6 separate regions of the Homo sapiens genome follow, and regions 2, 3, 4, 5 and 6 are each linked to region 1. Evidence: promoter capture Hi-C in 16 types of primary human blood cells and fetal thymus (Javierre and others, 2016). All regions are on one chromosome and are shown on one strand. Each heading gives the region's core, a stretch centred on a gene start or on the middle of the fragment in contact. The rest is flanking DNA. Distances are from core to core; before and after follow the strand shown.

The links. Contacts are between HindIII fragments. The CHiCAGO score rates a contact against its expected background, and 5 or more counts as called.
Region 2: a fragment that was not itself captured here is called in contact with the fragment with the promoter of VPS18 in region 1 in 5 of 17 cell types (total B cells, fetal thymus, naive CD4 T cells and 2 more); the score reaches 7.2 in total B cells.
Region 3: a contact is called between a fragment that was not itself captured here and the fragment with the promoter of VPS18 in region 1, in 1 of 17 cell types (endothelial precursors). The highest score is 7.0, in endothelial precursors.
Region 4: a fragment that was not itself captured here is called in contact with the fragment with the promoter of VPS18 in region 1 in 2 of 17 cell types (erythroblasts and monocytes); the score reaches 5.3 in erythroblasts.
Region 5: a fragment that was not itself captured here is called in contact with the fragment with the promoter of VPS18 in region 1 in 11 of 17 cell types (endothelial precursors, erythroblasts, megakaryocytes and 8 more); the score reaches 7.7 in endothelial precursors.
Region 6: a contact is called between the fragment with the promoter of KNL1 here and the fragment with the promoter of VPS18 in region 1, in 1 of 17 cell types (M2 macrophages). The highest score is 6.3, in M2 macrophages.

Annotation. Positions count from the first base shown.
Region 1 is chr15:40,893,173-40,895,872 of GRCh38, forward strand. It overlaps VPS18 (VPS18 core subunit of CORVET and HOPS complexes), which reads left to right and starts at 1,278. Exons shown (of 5, transcript NM_020857.3): 1 at 1,278-1,687. The coding sequence starts at 1,597. RefSeq lists a silencer at 994-1,163 and an enhancer at 2,004-2,093. The HindIII fragment of the contact is 16,460 bases long and covers 1-2,700 here.
Region 2 is chr15:41,327,514-41,330,249 of GRCh38, forward strand. The region is part of intron 2 of OIP5 (Opa interacting protein 5); the gene reads right to left. Among named protein-coding and RNA genes, the nearest start is that of OIP5, 3.7 kb to the right of the region's middle. The HindIII fragment of the contact is 6,952 bases long and covers 1-2,736 here.
Region 3 is chr15:41,357,430-41,360,129 of GRCh38, forward strand. NUSAP1 (nucleolar and spindle associated protein 1) reads left to right here. Exons shown (of 11, transcript NM_016359.5): 6 at 720-829. Among named protein-coding and RNA genes, the nearest start is that of NUSAP1, 26 kb to the left of the region's middle. The HindIII fragment of the contact is 1,388 bases long and covers 729-2,116 here.
Region 4 is chr15:41,258,251-41,261,016 of GRCh38, forward strand. All of the region lies in intron 3 of CHP1 (calcineurin like EF-hand protein 1), which reads left to right. Among named protein-coding and RNA genes, the nearest start is that of OIP5-AS1, 23 kb to the right of the region's middle. The HindIII fragment of the contact is 1,619 bases long and covers 480-2,098 here.
Region 5 is chr15:41,225,276-41,227,975 of GRCh38, forward strand. It overlaps EXD1 (exonuclease 3'-5' domain containing 1), which reads right to left. Exons shown (of 12, transcript NM_001286441.2): 2 at 1,168-1,353. The coding sequence starts at 1,300. Among named protein-coding and RNA genes, the nearest start is that of EXD1, 4.1 kb to the right of the region's middle. The HindIII fragment of the contact is 4,426 bases long and covers 1-2,700 here.
Region 6 is chr15:40,592,962-40,595,661 of GRCh38, forward strand. It overlaps KNL1 (kinetochore scaffold 1), which reads left to right and starts at 1,288. Exons shown (of 26, transcript NM_144508.5): 1 at 1,288-1,431. It overlaps TRS-GCT4-2 (tRNA-Ser (anticodon GCT) 4-2), which reads right to left and starts at 945; the gene lies at 864-945. RefSeq lists a silencer at 838-887 and enhancers at 1,008-1,227, 1,448-1,767. The HindIII fragment of the contact is 4,787 bases long and covers 1-1,823 here.

The DNA.
Region 1 (2,700 bases), core at 28-2,527:
AGTGGGGCTGGTGAGAGTCACAGTTCTCCGCACGTGGCCAGGAAGTTGAGCAAGAGTAACCCAACCACATAAGGTATGGTGCAAACCTGGAAACTTCTGAGAGCAAAGGGATGCTCTTAGTTGTTAGGCGGGGGCCGCCCAGCAGAGCCAGGACGGTGGCGACCCTAGTCCAGAGCCTTCCACTTTAGCAAGGTAGAATCCAAGGGCCCCAGAAGGGAACAGACTCCATCTGGGTCGCCTAAGCAGGTGAGAGAGGAAAACCCAACCACAGTCGCGCCCCAGCCCTCGCAGGTCCCTGGCTGAGGACTCCCCTCTCCACCTCAGGCTGGGCGGCCCCCGCCTTCACGCTTGCTCCCACTTGTCCCTCGTTCTTGCTAGGCTTGGCAGGTATTTGTTCCCTGCTCCTTCACGCTCTCAGTGCCGTGGCCACGTCGCTGGGTACGCCCCACCAGGCAAGAGACATTTTCCGTCTTGTTCTCTGCCACGTCCCCAGAGCCTGGAACAGTGCTTGGCACAGAGTGGACGCTCATTCGTGGAGTAAGTGCCTGATGGATAATCCATCACTTGCTTTTCTAGTATGAATGGTCTATTTACGGGTCCAGCGCCCCTGCTGGCTTACGACCTTTTCCAGGGCGGGGAGGGGCTGTCCTCATCTCTGTGACCCCAGCGCCCAGCCCAAGGCCTGGCACAGAGTAAGTGCTCAACCACATTTTGGTGAATGAGTGAATGGAAGCGGCCCAGCAACCCTGAGCCAAGGAGCCACTGTGGGGCAGGTCAGGGCGGTTCCTGGCACAGGGCTTCCCACTAGCCTGGCCACCAGCTCTGCGGTCTCCTGGAAGCTGGGGGGCCTTTGGGTAAGGGAGAAGAGTGGCCAGGAGTTGTCTGCGTGTGCCCTGTGACGGTGGGATAGAGACAGCGATTGGATTGAGGAACGGGAGGTTCCCCGAGGCTGTTTAGAGAGGCGGGAGCGGGAGCTGGTCAGGGAGGCTGGACAGACCACCCGAGGGAGCGGAGCTTGGGCACGAAAGCCAAAACTGGGCGGCGCGGGGCGGGTGGGGAAGGCCGGCTGAGAAAGCCGGGATTGCCTCCTGGTGTCAAAGCTCGGAACTGCAGCAGGATCCTGGGGGCGGGGCTTGTGTTCAGCAGCACTCGCCACGCGCCCAGCCCTCAGCCCTCGTCTCGCCTTCTGCTGGCTGGCCCGGCGACGTTGTGCGCCAGCGTACGCGGGGCTCTGAGAACCCGGAAGTTACGTTTTAGGCCCGCGTCACGGGGGCGGGAGTCAGCTGAGCTGCCGGGGCGAGGTTGGGATCACCTGGCACCGGCTGAAGGGAGCCTGTGATTTTTTTGTAGCGGGGGCGGGGAGTAAGGTGCAAGACTGCGCCAGATTCAAGGACGAGGGCTGCCCGATTATCTCGCTGCATAAGGCAAGAGCAAGAGGATCCTCAGGATTTTAAAGAGGAGGCGACGGCTGCAGGTTCCCAGGATCTGTCAGAGGCTGGGGAGTTACAGCTTCCATTCTGGGGCGACGGGGACCCCGGGGGGGTAGCCCTTTTGTAATCCCCAGGCCCCGGACAAAGAGCCCAGAGGCCGGGCACCATGGCGTCCATCCTGGATGAGTACGAGAACTCGCTGTCCCGCTCGGCCGTCTTGCAGCCCGGCTGCCCTAGCGTGGGCATCCCCCACTCGGGTAAGGAAGAGGAGGGTGCCGCTGCCCCTTTCGGCTCTCCTAGCATTTGCGTGGGAGCAGCGAGGAGGGCAGCTCCAAGAGCTCGGGGTCATCCCCTGGGCCGTGCCTTCCGGGTCTAGGCCCCTGATTCTCCTCAGGCTCTCTTGGCCCCCAGCTGGTGGATAGTCGAAGTTTGAAAGAGCAACGGGAGCTGCCGCGTGATCTAGGCTCTACCGCTAGGGTCCTTTTGAGAGGGAATTGGGGCCCAGATAAGGAATTACTCACCTACAGGGCGCAGTTGGGCTGTTGGGAGAACTTAGAATGGGCTCCCGGCTTCTGCTGATGCTTTTCCCACCAGGCCCCTTCTGGAGGTGGGAGGGAAGGAATGGACAAAGAAAGTGGTGAAGGCGGAGTATTGCAGAGGAAGAAGGGAGGGTCCCAGAGGGAATTTTGTCGCTGAACGGGGAAAATGGAGATGAAATCTTTTTGGCCTTGGCTATAGCTGGGTGCAGCCTGGAGTTTGGGGACGTTTTTGTAGAAAGTAGTGAGTCTCCAGGAGAATGAGGGCATAGGGAGCCCTGGGGAACTGTTCCAGTGAGTGGAGTTAACGAATTGGAGCTGCTTTCACTCTAGTCTTTACCTTCATTCAATGCTCAAAATATCCCAGCACTTGCCAACTCTACACTGAGGCTCATTACCGCATGGGCAGGGAGGGGGGCAGAGAATGGGGCTATACTACTTCAGTTAAGCTGGGATTGCTGGGCCAAAGACCTGATAAGGGAGAATACCCAGACCACCAGTCCCGTCCCACCTCCACGCAGCCCCATTACCAGTGGGAGCAGGTATATCATGCTGTGACAGCATCTTAAGGGTTCAAAGAATCAACCCCTCACTGCTGTCAGAGTGTGGAAAGAGCTCCAGACCTCTATTGTAAAGGTGACCAGCAAACGACTTGATATCAAACTATTTGTTAACCAAGGTCCTGGGGATAGGAATATGTCAGGAAAGTGGCGAGGAGCACTGTGGTGTTTTTT
Region 2 (2,736 bases), core at 230-2,729, 430 kb after region 1:
GCGCAGTGGCTCACGCCTGTAATCCCAACACTTTGGGAGGCTGAGGTGGGAGGATCACGAAGTCAGGAGATTAAGACCATCCTGGCCAACATGGTGAAACCCCGTCTCTACTAAAATACATAAAATTAGCCAGATGTGGTGGCATGCACCTGTAGTCCCAGTTACTCGGGAGGCTGAGGCAGGGGAATCACTTGAACCCGGGAGGCGGAGTTTGCAGTGAGCCAAGATCCTGCCACTGCACTTCAGCCTGGGCTACAGAGCAAGACTCCATCTCAAAAAAATAAAAAATAAAATAAAATAATTGAAAAGAAAGGCTGAGTGCAGTGGCTCATGCTTGTAATGCCAGCACTTTGGGAAGCAAAGGTGGGCAGATCACTTGAGTTCAGGAGTTCAAAACCAGCCTGGGCAACATGTTGAAACCCTATCTCTACAACAAATTAGCTGGGCATGGTGGTGCATGCCTTATAGTCCTAGCTACTTGGGAGGCTGAGGTGAAAGGATGGCTTGAGCCTGGGAGGCGGAGGTTGTTCTCCATCCTGGGTAAAAGAGCCAGACTCCATCTCAAAAAATAAATAAATAGAAAAAAGTTTCTTATAAAGATCCTTACCAAAATATTTATGGATGGAATGATGTAATTTCAGGTATCTGCTTCAAAACATTGTGGAGGATAGATATTTTGTTTTGTTTTAGAGATGAAGTCTCGCTATGTTGCTCATGATGGTCTTGAACTCCTGGGTTCAAGTGATCCTCCCACCTTGGCCTCCAAAAGTGTTGGGATTACAGGCGTGAGCCAGCATGATAAGCCAACTATGATTTTAGATGAAACAAGATTGGCCAAGAGTTGATAAGTGCTCTAGTTTAGTGACAGGTAGACAGAGGTTCATTATATTCTTCTCTCGGGTTTGAATTTGCCATAACAATTAGAAAAAAATGTACTTCACTTATAATACAAACAAAATTCCATTTAAATATGCTGTTGAGCACAACAAAAGCTCAGGGTAAAAAAGCTATTTCTAAGTGTCAACATACTATAATAATCCTTTTTAAAATTAGTTACAATAAATCCTCTACCAGTAAGAGAACAATAAAATGTAGACGGAAGTAACCTTGTATCTGTCTACTTTATGACTTTGAATCTAAGAGGTTCATGCCAATTGTAGAATGTTTAAATAAATGTCGGAGGGAGTATATTTTAGGAGTATTCAAATATGACAGATTGAGAGGGATCAATTTATTTCACATGCCTCATTAAGAGTAAAGTTAAGGCCTGGTGCGGTGGCTCACACCTGTAATCCCAGCACTTTGGGAGGCTGAGGCAGGTGGATCACAAGGTCAGAAGTTCGAGACCAGCATGGCCAACATGGTGAAACCCCGTCTCTACTAAAAATATAAAAATACAAAAATTAGCCAGGCATAGTGGCGTGCGCCTGGAATCCCAGCTACTCGGGAGGCTGAGGTAGGAGAATAGCTTGAACCCGGGAGGCGGAGGTTGCAGCGAGCCAAGATCCCGCCACTGTGCTCCAGCCTGGGTCAGAGCAAGACTCCATCTCAAAAAAAAAAAAAAAAAAAAAAAAAAAAGAATAAAAAGAACCCGAGTCTGCTGTCTCTAAAATTTATGCTCTTTTAGCTGCATCATTAATCATCCTCTTAATTCATTCTCTGACCCCATCTAGGTAATGAACCTACACTTAGAAAAAAATCAAGTTGTCTTGAGCTGTGCCATTTCATAACCCTCTTCGTAAGTCCCATATAGCTCATCTTACTCCACAAATACAGAAACACATGGGGCTTTCCCTCTAGTTTTTTTTTTTTTTTTTTTTCAGACGGAGTCTCGATCTGTCGTCCAGGCTGGAGTGTAGTGGTGCGATCTTGGCTCACTGCAACCTCTGCTTCCCAGGTTCAAGCCATTCTCCTGCCTCAGCCTCCCAAGTAGCTGGGACTATAGGCGCTTGCCACCTCGCCCCCCTAATTTTTGTACTTTTAGTAGAGACGTGGTTTCACCATACTGGCCAGGCTGGTCCCGAACTCCCGACCTTGTGATCTGCCTGCCTTGGCCTCCCAAAGTGCTGGGATTATAGGTGTAAGCCACTGCACCTGGCCTTCCTCCAGTTTTTTACAAAGCATCTAAACAAGCATTGTCTAATAGGAATATAATGTGAGTCACATATGTAATTTTAAATTTTCTATTCATTTTGCTTTTTTTTTTGAGGAAGAGTCTCGCTCTGTTGCCCAGGCTGGAGTACAGTGGGATGATCTTGGCTCACTGCAACCCCCGCCTACCAGATTCAAGCAATTCTCTGCCTCAGTCTCCCAAGTAGCTGGGATTACAGGCGCCCGCCACCACGCCCAGCTAATTTTTGTATTTCTAGTAGAAACAGTTTCACTATCTTGGCTAGGCTGGTCTTGAACTCCTGACCTCGTGATCCATCCGCCTTGGCCTCCCAAAGTGCTGGGATTACATGCATCAGCCACGGCGCCTGGCCTAATTTTGCTTTAAAAAATAAAATAAAAACAGGTGAAATTAGTTTTTAAATATTTTATTTAACCCAATATATCAAAAATGTCATTTCACCATGTAATCAATTTTTTTTTTTAAGACAGAGTTTCGCTCTCGTTGCCCAGGCTGGAGTGCAATGGCGTGAACTCGGCTCACCACAACCTCCACCTCCCGGGTTCAAGCGATTCTCCCTCCTCAGCCTCCTGGGATTACAGCCTAGCTGGGATTACAGGCATGTG
Region 3 (2,700 bases), core at 173-2,672, 460 kb after region 1:
GGCCATAAAGCCTAAAATACTTTTTTTTTTTGAGACGAAGTTTTGCTCTTGTTGCCCAGGCTGGAGTGCAATGGCGCAATCTAGGCTCACTGCAACCTCCACCTCCCGGGTTCAAGCGATTCTCCTGCCTCAGTGTCCCGAGTAGCTGGGATTACAGGCGTGCGCCACCACACCTGGCTAATTTTTGTATTTTTAGTAGAGATGGGGTTTCTCCATGTTGGTCAGGCTGGTCTCGAACTCCTGACCTCAGGTGATCTGACCGCTTTGGCTTCCCAAAGTGCTGAGATTACAGGTGTTGAGCCACCATGACCAGCCAAGTCTTAAATACTTTTATCTAGCCCTTTATAGAATAAATTTGTCAGTCCTTGACATACAGCATTATAAAATATCAAATTCATTATTAAATAAAGACCACTTGTGACTAATTGGTAGGGGAGAAGATAAATCTTCTACTCTAATCCTCTGGATTAAACCAAGATGTCAATTTAGTGAAATTTGTCAGTGGGGAGATGGTGAATGTTTGATAGTTTATAAGATGAATGTGCTTTGCCCCTGAGTTTCCAAAAACTAAGTATTTTGAAATTAATGTTTTAGCAAAAATTATATTGAAGTTGAATGTCAGGGATGCAAAGAAGAGAATAAGTGTTAACAGAAAAACACAGAGAAGATAAATAAATGGATTTTGTTTTGTTATTAATTTTTATATTGGAACATTCTAGACTTTAAGAAGCTTCATGAAGCTCATTTTAAGGAAATGGAGTCCATTGATCAATATATTGAGAGAAAAAAGAAACATTTTGAAGAACACAATTCCATGAATGAACTGAAGGTATGTAGATAAAATTATGTTCTTAATGGAACTAAACTGTTTGATTATAATTTTGAAACTATATAACACCGTGGTTACAACAACTGGCTGTCACTCTACCAGTAGATTTGTTTGAATTTAATATATCTTTATCTAAAACTTGCTTTCCCCTACCCTGAGAATTTTCAAAGTCCTCTAGATAAAACAGTGAATCCATGGCCAAGCGCAGTGGCTCATGCCTGTAATCCCCGCACTTTGGGAGGCCAAGGCAAGTGGATTACCTCAGGTCAGGAGTTCAAGGCCAGCCTGGGCAACATGGTGAAACCCTGTCTCTACAAAAAATACAGAAAATTAGTAGGGGGTGGCACATGGCTGTAATCCCATCTACTCAGGAGGCTGAGGCAGGAGAATCACTTGAACCAGGAGGCCAACATTGCAGTGAGCTGAGATCGCGCCACTGCACTCCAGCCTGGGTGACAGAGTGAGACTCCGTCTCAAAAAAAAAGAAAACAGTGAATCCTGACTATGAGAAACTATTTCCAAAATGGCAATGTCATTCTACTTTCCATATTCAGATGTTTTGCCTATTACTTTCATTGATGATGAACCAACTTATGGCTGAAGCCATCTTCTTTCCCTCGTCCCTTATGTAAAGGAAAATGGGTGATTAATAGTGGCAAACCTGAAGGGTTCCTGTGGTAACAGCTCCCTCGAGGGCTTTCAGTCCAGGTTCCACAGGACTCAAAGCCTCCTCAAGTAAGAGAAGGTGATAAAGTCAACTCTGAGGCTGAGTTAGCAAAGTAGTGAGTAACATTCTAGCAAGTTGATGTTATTGGTATCTGGTGTTAAGGCAGTGCCGAATGGAGGGCAGGAAACACATTTTTAAATATTTATGGATTTATGTATTTTTCTCATAAAGACAGGGTCTCCCTATGATTCCCAGGCTCTCCTTGAACGCCTAGGCTCAAGTGATCCTCCCACCTCAGCCTCCCAAAGTGCTGGGATTACAGGTGTGAGCCACCAGATTATATTTATTTCTATTCGCTGTATTTAATTCTTAACCCCATGTTTATTTTACATAACTTCCCTATTTCTCAAAAAGAATTTAAGGCCTATTCTCAAAATAATGTAAGTTTATGGTATTAAATATAAAATAGTATAGTCAATTTAAAAGCGGCAGAAAATTAGCACTGTTAGTAGGTACAGTATTTACTACCATCAGTCACTCAGCTGAGTTTAAGTTTTCTGGCAGCTAGGGCCAAGAGGAAAACTCACTGGGTGATAAATTGTAAATAATTTAAGTACTTAAGCTTCTTGGTGAGAAGCTTAATTGAAATAATAAACATTCATTTTAACGATGTAAAACCACTGTTACAACCATTTTTTTTCTTTTCTTTTCTTTTTTTTTTTTGAGACAGAGTTTCGCTCTTGTTGCCCAGACTGGAGGGCAATGGTACAGTCTCAGCTCACTGCAACCTCTGCCTCCCTGATTCAAGTGATTTTCCTGCCTTTAGCCTCCCCAGTAGCTGAGATTACAGGCGCCCACCACCACACCCAGCTAATTTTTTTATTTTTAGTAGAGACGGGTTTTCACCATGTTGGCCAGGCTGGTCTTGAACTCCTGACCTCAGGTGATCAACCCACCTCCCAAAGTGCTGGTATTACATGCATGAGCCATTGCTCCCATCCTCACTGTTACCACATTTGAAGGCACTGTTTGTCAAACTTTTTTTTTTTTTGAGACTCAGTCTCACTCTGTCACCCAGGCTGGAGTGCAATGGTGCGATCTTGCCTCACTGGAACCTCTGCTTCCCGGATGCAGCAGATTATTTTGCCTCAGCCTCCCAAGTAGTTGGGATTACAGGTGCCCACCACCACACCCAGCTAATATT
Region 4 (2,766 bases), core at 39-2,538, 370 kb after region 1:
ATGCACCAGTGTGTGTTTGCTAAGAATAGGGACATTCTTTTACATATCCATAGTATAGTTATCTACTTCAGTAAACTTAACATTGATACAATCCTCTTATCTAATCTATTACTCTGTTTTATTAACATATTATCCAGTTTATTCTAATTTATATTCATATTCCAATTTTGTCATCCAATAATCTGTTTTATAGCACTTCCCCGCCTCCAGTACAGGATCTAGTCTGGGTCAGTTGTCATGTCTCTTTAGCCTCCTTTAATCTGGAACATTTCCCCAGCCTTTATTTTACTTTCGTGATATTGAATAAACATAGTTCTCACCACATATGCTTTGTCAAGTAGATTGTTCTTAATGTGGGTTTTTCTAACATGAAACTAGTCTTTTGATATGCTTTACTACCTAATACACTGCCTTCACAGTAGTGAGTAAATATTTACTGATTTGATTAGGTACCTTTTCAACAATAAAACTTACATATAAGCTTGTTTTAAGTAATTTCCTAAACAATCTATTCCTGGTTTATATGGATAGTCTATGACCCACAGGACTTCAAAATATTATATGGGTGCCAGTTTTTAATAATGAGACTGTCAATGAGGACACTGTCAGATAAAATGCCTGGAGAGGAAATTTTAGAACTCTAAATTGAGAGCAAAGGAATTTGCTAGTTGAGAGGGTTGGGCATTCAGGAAATGTGAGTGAAAGTCAGAAGGGGAATTAGGTCGGGCAGTTAGTTCATGTAAAGATGGGAATCAAATCACGTTGACTATGAGGAATCTTATGCCCTCTTTCATTTTTTCCTTTCTCTCTCCTTGAACTGCCCTGTTTGTTTCAGGTGTGGTTTTTATGCTGAATTCTTCCTTTTTTCTAATTCCTCTTTTACCCCTGCAAAGCATTGAACCCTATCCAGAGATAACTTTCACAGCTATGCTTTGTATCCAAACCTTTTGCAATGAAAAGTAAACCCAGGAGAGTCACTTTGCCAACTTTTTTTCAGAATTCCTTAGTCACCATTGATTACTTGAAGAAGCAGCTTGTGGGAAGCTGTTTTGTAAGACTAAACTACATTTGCTGTGACTACAATATCACCTGTCATTCTGTCCACCAATCTACTGCTAAGGAAATGGGACAGAGTGCATATGAGGAAGTGGAGGGCTCTACTGGGCTGCACTGCTTAGCTCTTAGCAAGCTGCGACTCTGCTTCTTGCTCTAATCAGATAGATATATTTGGCTTCTGGGTTTTTCTTTCTTCCCTAGGCATATGCACATTGGGGCTTTTTTTTTTTTTTTTTTAAAGAATGAGATTTGAAAGTGGACCATGGTTATTCAATTCCCTTTTACCCAGAAACTTTATGCTAGCAATAATCATTAATGTGTTTTTTCTAGCATATGTTTTAAACTTTACTCCACATTACTTGATTCCTCAGATCTGACATTTTTGACCAGATACTGGTCCATTAGCAGTATAGATACATCGAAGAACTAAAAGGTCATTCTTTTGTTTTGTTTTTTGTTTTTTTGAGACGGAGTCTCCCTCTGTCTCCCAGGCTGGCATGCAGTGGTGTGATCTTGGCTCACCGCAACCTCTGCCTCCTGGGTTCGAGTGATTCTCCTGCCTCAGCCTCCCCAAGTAGCTGGGACTACAGGCTCACGCCACCACGCCTGGCTAAGGTTTCACCACGTTGGCCAGGCTGGTTTTGAACTCTTGACCTCAGGTGATCCGCCCGCCCCGGCCTCCCAGAGTGCTGGGATTATGGGCGTGAGCCACTGCACCCAGCCAAGGTCATTCTTTTGAGTACAGATGGCTCACAGGCTAGCCTTTGAACTCTGCCTTTAGAAGGGCTATGAACTGCATGTCTATAGAGCACAGAAGAGAACCTACATACCTCAGCTATTCGGTGGGGCACAGAAAGGCTGGGGTTTTTTTTTTTTTTAGGTAACCACAGGAACCAGGCCATCTGCCTTAGATAAATAAATTATATTATGTTACATGGGGCATTCTTTTTTAATATTAAAGAACATTCTTCATTCAAGTTTTGAGAATTATTTCTTACAGGGTTATTGATTAGCCTGTGGCACAATGAAAAGATTTTCTCCAAGCTTAAGTACCAAAAAGGCTTTATACACAAGAGGTCTTTCAAAACTTTTTTTTTTTTTTTTTTGAGATGGAGTCTCCCTCTGTCACCCAGGCTGGAGTGCAGTGGTGCAGTCTCGACTCATTGCACCCTCCATCTTTGGGGTTCAAGTGATTCTCCTGCCTCAGGCTCTCAAGTAGCTGGGATTACAGGCATGCACCACCAGGCCCAGCTAATTTTTGTATTTTTAGTAGAGACGGGGTTTCACCATGTTGGCCAGGCTGGTCTTGAACTCCTGACCTCAGGTGATCCACCCACCTTGGCCTCTTGAAGTGCTGGGATTATAGACGTGAGCCACTGTGCCTGGCCTAAAAGATTATTTAGAGAAAAATTATCCAATTATGAGGGAATAATAAAATCATGATGTGTCCACAGAATTATGCATATGTTTTAAATGTTTCAAAGTATTTATATTGATTGGAGAAATGCTTAAAAGTTAAAAAAAAAGGCAGGATACTAATACAGTTATCTGAAAAGCATAGAAAAGTTACTAGAAGAAAATGCATTCATATATATATGAGGGAGTCTTGCACCGTCACCTGGGCTGGAGTGCAGTGGCGCAGTCTCGGCTCACGCAACTTCTGCCTCCTGTGTGTTCAAGTGATTCTCCCACCTCAGCCTCCCAAATAAC
Region 5 (2,700 bases), core at 191-2,690, 330 kb after region 1:
TTCAAATGCATATGGAAAGAAATTAAAGGGCCAGCATAGTGGCTCAAGCCTGTAATCCCAGCACTTTGGGAGGCCAAGGTGGGCGGATCAACTGAAGTCAGGACTTTGAGACCGGCCTGGCCAACACAGTGAAACTCTGCCACTACTAAAAATACAAAAATTAGCCAGACTTGGTGATGGGTGCCTGTAACCCCAGCTACTTGGGAGGCTGAGGCAGGAGACTTGCTTGAACCTGGGAGGCAGAGGTTGCAGTGAGCCAAGATCGCGCCACTGCACTCTAGCCTGGGCAACAAGAACGAGACTCATTCTCAGAAAAAAAAAAAAAGGCCGGGAGCGGTGGCTCATGCCTATAATCCCAGCACTTTGGGGGACCGAGGTGGGTGGATCACCTGAGGTCCGGAGTTTGAGACCAGCCTGGCCAACAGGCTGTGTTTTTGTATTTTTTGTACTAAAAATACAAAAATTAGATAGGCATGGTGGTGTGTGCCCGTAATTCCAGCCACTCGGGAGGCTGAGGCAGGAGAATCACTTGAACTTGGGAGGCGGAGGTTGCGGTGAGCTATCACGCCACTGCACTCCAGCCTGGGGGATGGAGCAAGACAACATCTCAAAAAACAAAACAAAACAAAACAAAACAAAAAAAACCTTTTTATATTGAAAATTCCTGCTATCATATCAAAAGCAGGGACACACCAGGCTCGGCATGGTGGCTCACACCTGTAATCGCAGAACTTTGGGAGGCCAAGGCAGGCGGATCACGAGGTCAGGAGATCGAGACCATCCTGGCTAACACGGTGAAACCCTGTCTCTACTAAAAATACAAAAAATTTGCTGGGAGTGGTGGCGGGTGTCTGTAGTCCCAGCTACTCGGGAGGCTGAGGCAGGAGAATGGTGTGAACCCGGGAGGCAGAGCTTGCAGTGAGCCATGATCACGCCACTGCACTCCAGCCTGGGCAACAGAGCGAGACTCCATCTCAAAAAAAAAAAGTAGGGACAAACCAGCATATTCAGTCACATTGTTCTGTTTGGGAAAACAATATTCTAACCTTCCTCCCACACTTTACCTAAAATAGGAATAATGCCACCCTCCCAATCACTAATGGAGCCCACTGAAAGTCAATCACTAATCTCTTAAAAGGCAGAACATTATAAGAAATAGAACAAGACCTTTCTTCAGGACAACAATCTTATTAGGGTCAACATGCTGAAGCACACCCTCGAAGACACCACAGACCAATGTGAGTTTCACCCTCTTCCACAAAATCTGGCTGAGGAAATGGTAGTCACTGCTGGGGTCCATGCTAATTGATTCCAAAAGCCGTCTTCAAATAATCTTCTTTAAGCATCCAAACACTTGAAAATTAATAAAGAGATCTATGAATTTTAAAAGATTTTTTGGGAGTAAAGTTATTTTCCCTTTCCCCATATCTGTAATGGACAAGAATAAAATCTGAATAATTCAGTTTTGTTCATCTTTTTGGAATGATGAGAAAAGGATCATTGCAAGCACCAACTCTCATACATAGGAAACTGAAAACTATAAGAAATTGGGCAAGTTAGGCTTGGCTTCTTTGTTTATAAAATGGGCATGATATCATCTTTCCTTCCTTAGCTAAATGGAAGAAGCAGAACATTTAGAGGCTTTTTAATGGCACATTTATACATCATTATAACAAAAAAATGAAAAGAGCAAATGAAAAAAATTGACATACATAGAAATATTTGCCAATACATGTTGCAATAAATTGTTTAGGGCAGCATAACTACCTGAGCTGCTATTTTTTATAACTCTGGTTGAGAATTTAAGGGCATGGTAATTTTTGCTAAAACTGAAGCTGATAATTTTAAGTAAAGCAACTAAATTTACCCTTTACTTAGGAATTAAAGGAAATCAAGGCAAGTAGGACAATAGTGGTACATTGGGAAAAGAACTTTTCTTTCAACTTGTGTTTAATGAATTGAATTTTAGAGACAGTTTCCCATAACTTGGGTCTATGCTATCCTATTAATTTTTATGTCTAGGTACTTGAAATGTTCCATTTCTGTGTATTTTTTTATTTTCTGTCCTATGACAGTTCTACGCTAAAGGTATTTTAAAATAAAAGCCAAATTGGCCGGGCGCAGTGGCTCATGCCTGTAATCCCACCACTTTGGGAGGCCGAGGTGGGCAGATAATCTGAGGTCGGGAGTTCCAGACCAGCCTGACCAACATGGAGAAACCCTGTCTTTACTAAAAATACAAAATTAGCCGGGTGTGGTGGCGTATGCCTGTAATCCCAGCTATTCAGGAAGGCTGAGGCAGGAGAATCACTTGAACCCGGGAGGCAGAGGTTGCAGTGAGCCGAGATTTAGAGATCGCGCCACTGTACTCCAGCCTGTGCGACAGAGCAACACTGTCTCAAAAAAAAAAAAAAAAAGAATTACAACCATATAGAAATGTACAAAGTAAAGAAAAAATGTACTAAGAAATATTATTCATAGTGGGTACTCACCACTGGGTGCAGTGGCTTATGCCAGTAATCCTAGCACTTTAGGAGGCCAAGACAGGCAGATCACCTGAGGTCAGGAGTTCGAGACCAGCCTGACCAACATGGTGAAACCCCGTCTCTACTAAAAACACAAAAATTAGCCAGCTGTAGTGACGCACACCTGTAATCCTAGCTACTCAGGAGGCTGAGGCAGGAGAATCACTTGAACCCA
Region 6 (2,700 bases), core at 38-2,537, 300 kb before region 1:
TTGCTGAAGCACCTGCCAGAGGCCGTGTTGTGGAGCATGGTGCAATGCAGACAGCCTTGTGGAGGAGACAATCTGTAAACCATGACTGCAAAAGATTGATAAATACTGATTATTAATCTACAGCACAGTGTAGGATTGATAAATACTAATTATTAATCTACAGCACAGATTAGAAGGGTGATTAAGCCAGCGTCTAGTAGATTTGGGTTACACTCTCCTTTCTTCAATTTAGAAGCTGTATAACCTCGGGCAAGCTAATCTTTCAGTCTCCTCATCTGTAAAATGGAGTAATAAAAATATTTGTCATGATCAAGGGTTATAGTGATGTAATTCATGTAAAACATGTGGTGCCTGTAGATAATAAATACCGGATAAAGTGTCTCATGGTAGCTTTTGAAGTGAAACCTGGTATCTCATAATCAGGACAGGTGTTAAAAACCCCAGAGTAACAGTCTACAATAATTGAAACTCCTCAGTTAGGAGCTGTGTTAAAGTTGGAACAGAGCAGCATTGGAACATATGGGATGGTAATAATTGTGGAATTCTATTCACTGTTGTTAACTCCATATAAAAAGAAATTAAATCCAGCATGATTTCTGATTCCTGGAAAGTCTCTTTCCCTCCCTTTTCTTTATCTGTGATGTCAGAACGTTCCAAATACTGTATTTCAACATTTCAGGCCTGAAACTGATGGTGCCAGATTAATTGAGTAATAAATAATAAGTATTCAAGTTTTTCCGCTCTGCAAATTTACTTTGGTTATTAAAAAATTTATTCTGCTCTGCAAATTTACTTTGGTTATTAAAAAATTTATTCTGCTCTGCAAATTTACTTTGGTTACAAGCAAAAGTAAGCCACCACATCGACGAGGATGGGATTCGAACCCACGCGTGCAGAGCACAATGGATTAGCAGTCCATCGCCTTAACCACTCGGCCACCTCGTCCCGGTAAGTTACTGTTTCCTGATTGCTATAGGGAGTAATATCAAGGGGCTGTGACGCAATGTTATGGAAGCCGCCATTTTGTACGGAAGCCAAAGTCCAATCACTTCCATAGCAAGCAATCGAAAGAAGATGGCCGCTCCCACGATTGTGGGGGAGGTCTCCACTGGGGAGGGGCAGAGGAAATTCGGTCGAAAAAGAGATAAAGCTGAAGGAAATAAAATTGGCACGGAGTCTGGGAAAGTAGTTTCCCTAAAGGAGTCTTAGAAATAGGGTTGGTCTGGAACCTAAGGGGCGGAGCCGACGCGTAGAGCCGCTTTGCGCGTGCGCATCACCTAGGCGGTTAGATTTGAATACTTCACTGAGGCGAGCCGGGCGTTGTGAGCGGACTGCTAGAGGCGGCTGTCTGTTTCCGCTCTAAGGAAACTCAGAGCGTGTGGACCCCAAACAAGTCTGCGCAAAATTTGTCGAGGAGGTTTGCCGCGGCAGGTAAAGAGAATGACTCTTTCGTTCTGGGCTTCAGGGAAGGCTTCGGGTTTTGTCTGGGCGCCCTGAAGTTCCTGCGGTGGGAGGTAGGGTACGCTCCCTCAGCCTGGCGGCCTCCGTTAGCGCCGGGCCGAGTAGACGCCCCTGCCCCGGGCCGGGCACACTGTGCCCTTTTTCCCCTCCTCGGCCTGTACGTTGTGCCGCCTCCCGCTTCCCTAACACTTCTCCGCCTGCACCTCGGCCCCTCCGGCCACCCGGCTCGGGTTGCTTGTCCGTCGCTCTCTTGGCGTCCTCTTCCGCCCCGCCCTGCCGTCCTCTGTCAGGGCTCGCGGACTCTTCTTGCACCCCTGCCGCTCTTCCCTAGGGACCTCTCGGCTGTTTGTATTTCTCACTTAAGCTTTTTTTGGCTCTAAATGAAGTGACAGCAATGAGTGATTTTAAAATTCTCAGCTCTTCGTGGTTTAAGGTGTCTGCTCGGAGTGCTGGCCGCACGTAACAGATTTTTCGTTTTCTGCAAGTATAATAACCTTAACAAATGAAGTCAATATTAGTACTGCGCAAATTAGTTTTTAAAAATCCTCTTCTGTTCATTATTCCTCAGGATTTAAGCCCTTATTCTTCACGTTTATTTAAATACTCAAGTTTGAGGGAGGAAAAAGTATTGCCGATTGGAATTTTACAGATAGGTTTAATAGGCATTAACAGATAAAGGATGTGGATGAAGACCAAAGCAGAAGCTTATTCCAGTCTAGATATTAAAATTGATGTTTTCACTTCCGTCGAATCCTGTAGATATTTATTGGGTTCCTTATCCTGTGATAGGGCCGGGGACAGATGATTCCCAAACCTAGAGGGGTTTACAAAGGGAAATAACTAATATACACAAATAACTAGAATACAAGACAGAATGTAAAAGATTATAGGACATTCTAAAGTGGTGTGGGAGCACGGAAAAGGGAGAGCTTATTTGATGCTTTTGGTGATGGATTTGTGGAGAAGACCGCATTTGAGGTGGACGTTGGTTGGAGAGATGATTTACAGATGGGAGTTAATATGTGGTAAAATTTTGGTAATTAAAGGTTAGGGTCAAAGCAGTATAATTCTTGACTTTGCGAATGGCTGGAAATCTTTACAAGATGATAAATACATGTAAATTGAATTAAAATGTTTGGAATGGTAGTATTAATGATGTGTTCGATGTTAAATAATAGACTGTAAAAGATACTGACTCTAGATATTGCCAGTAAAGCAGTGCTGTCCAACAGGGCTTCC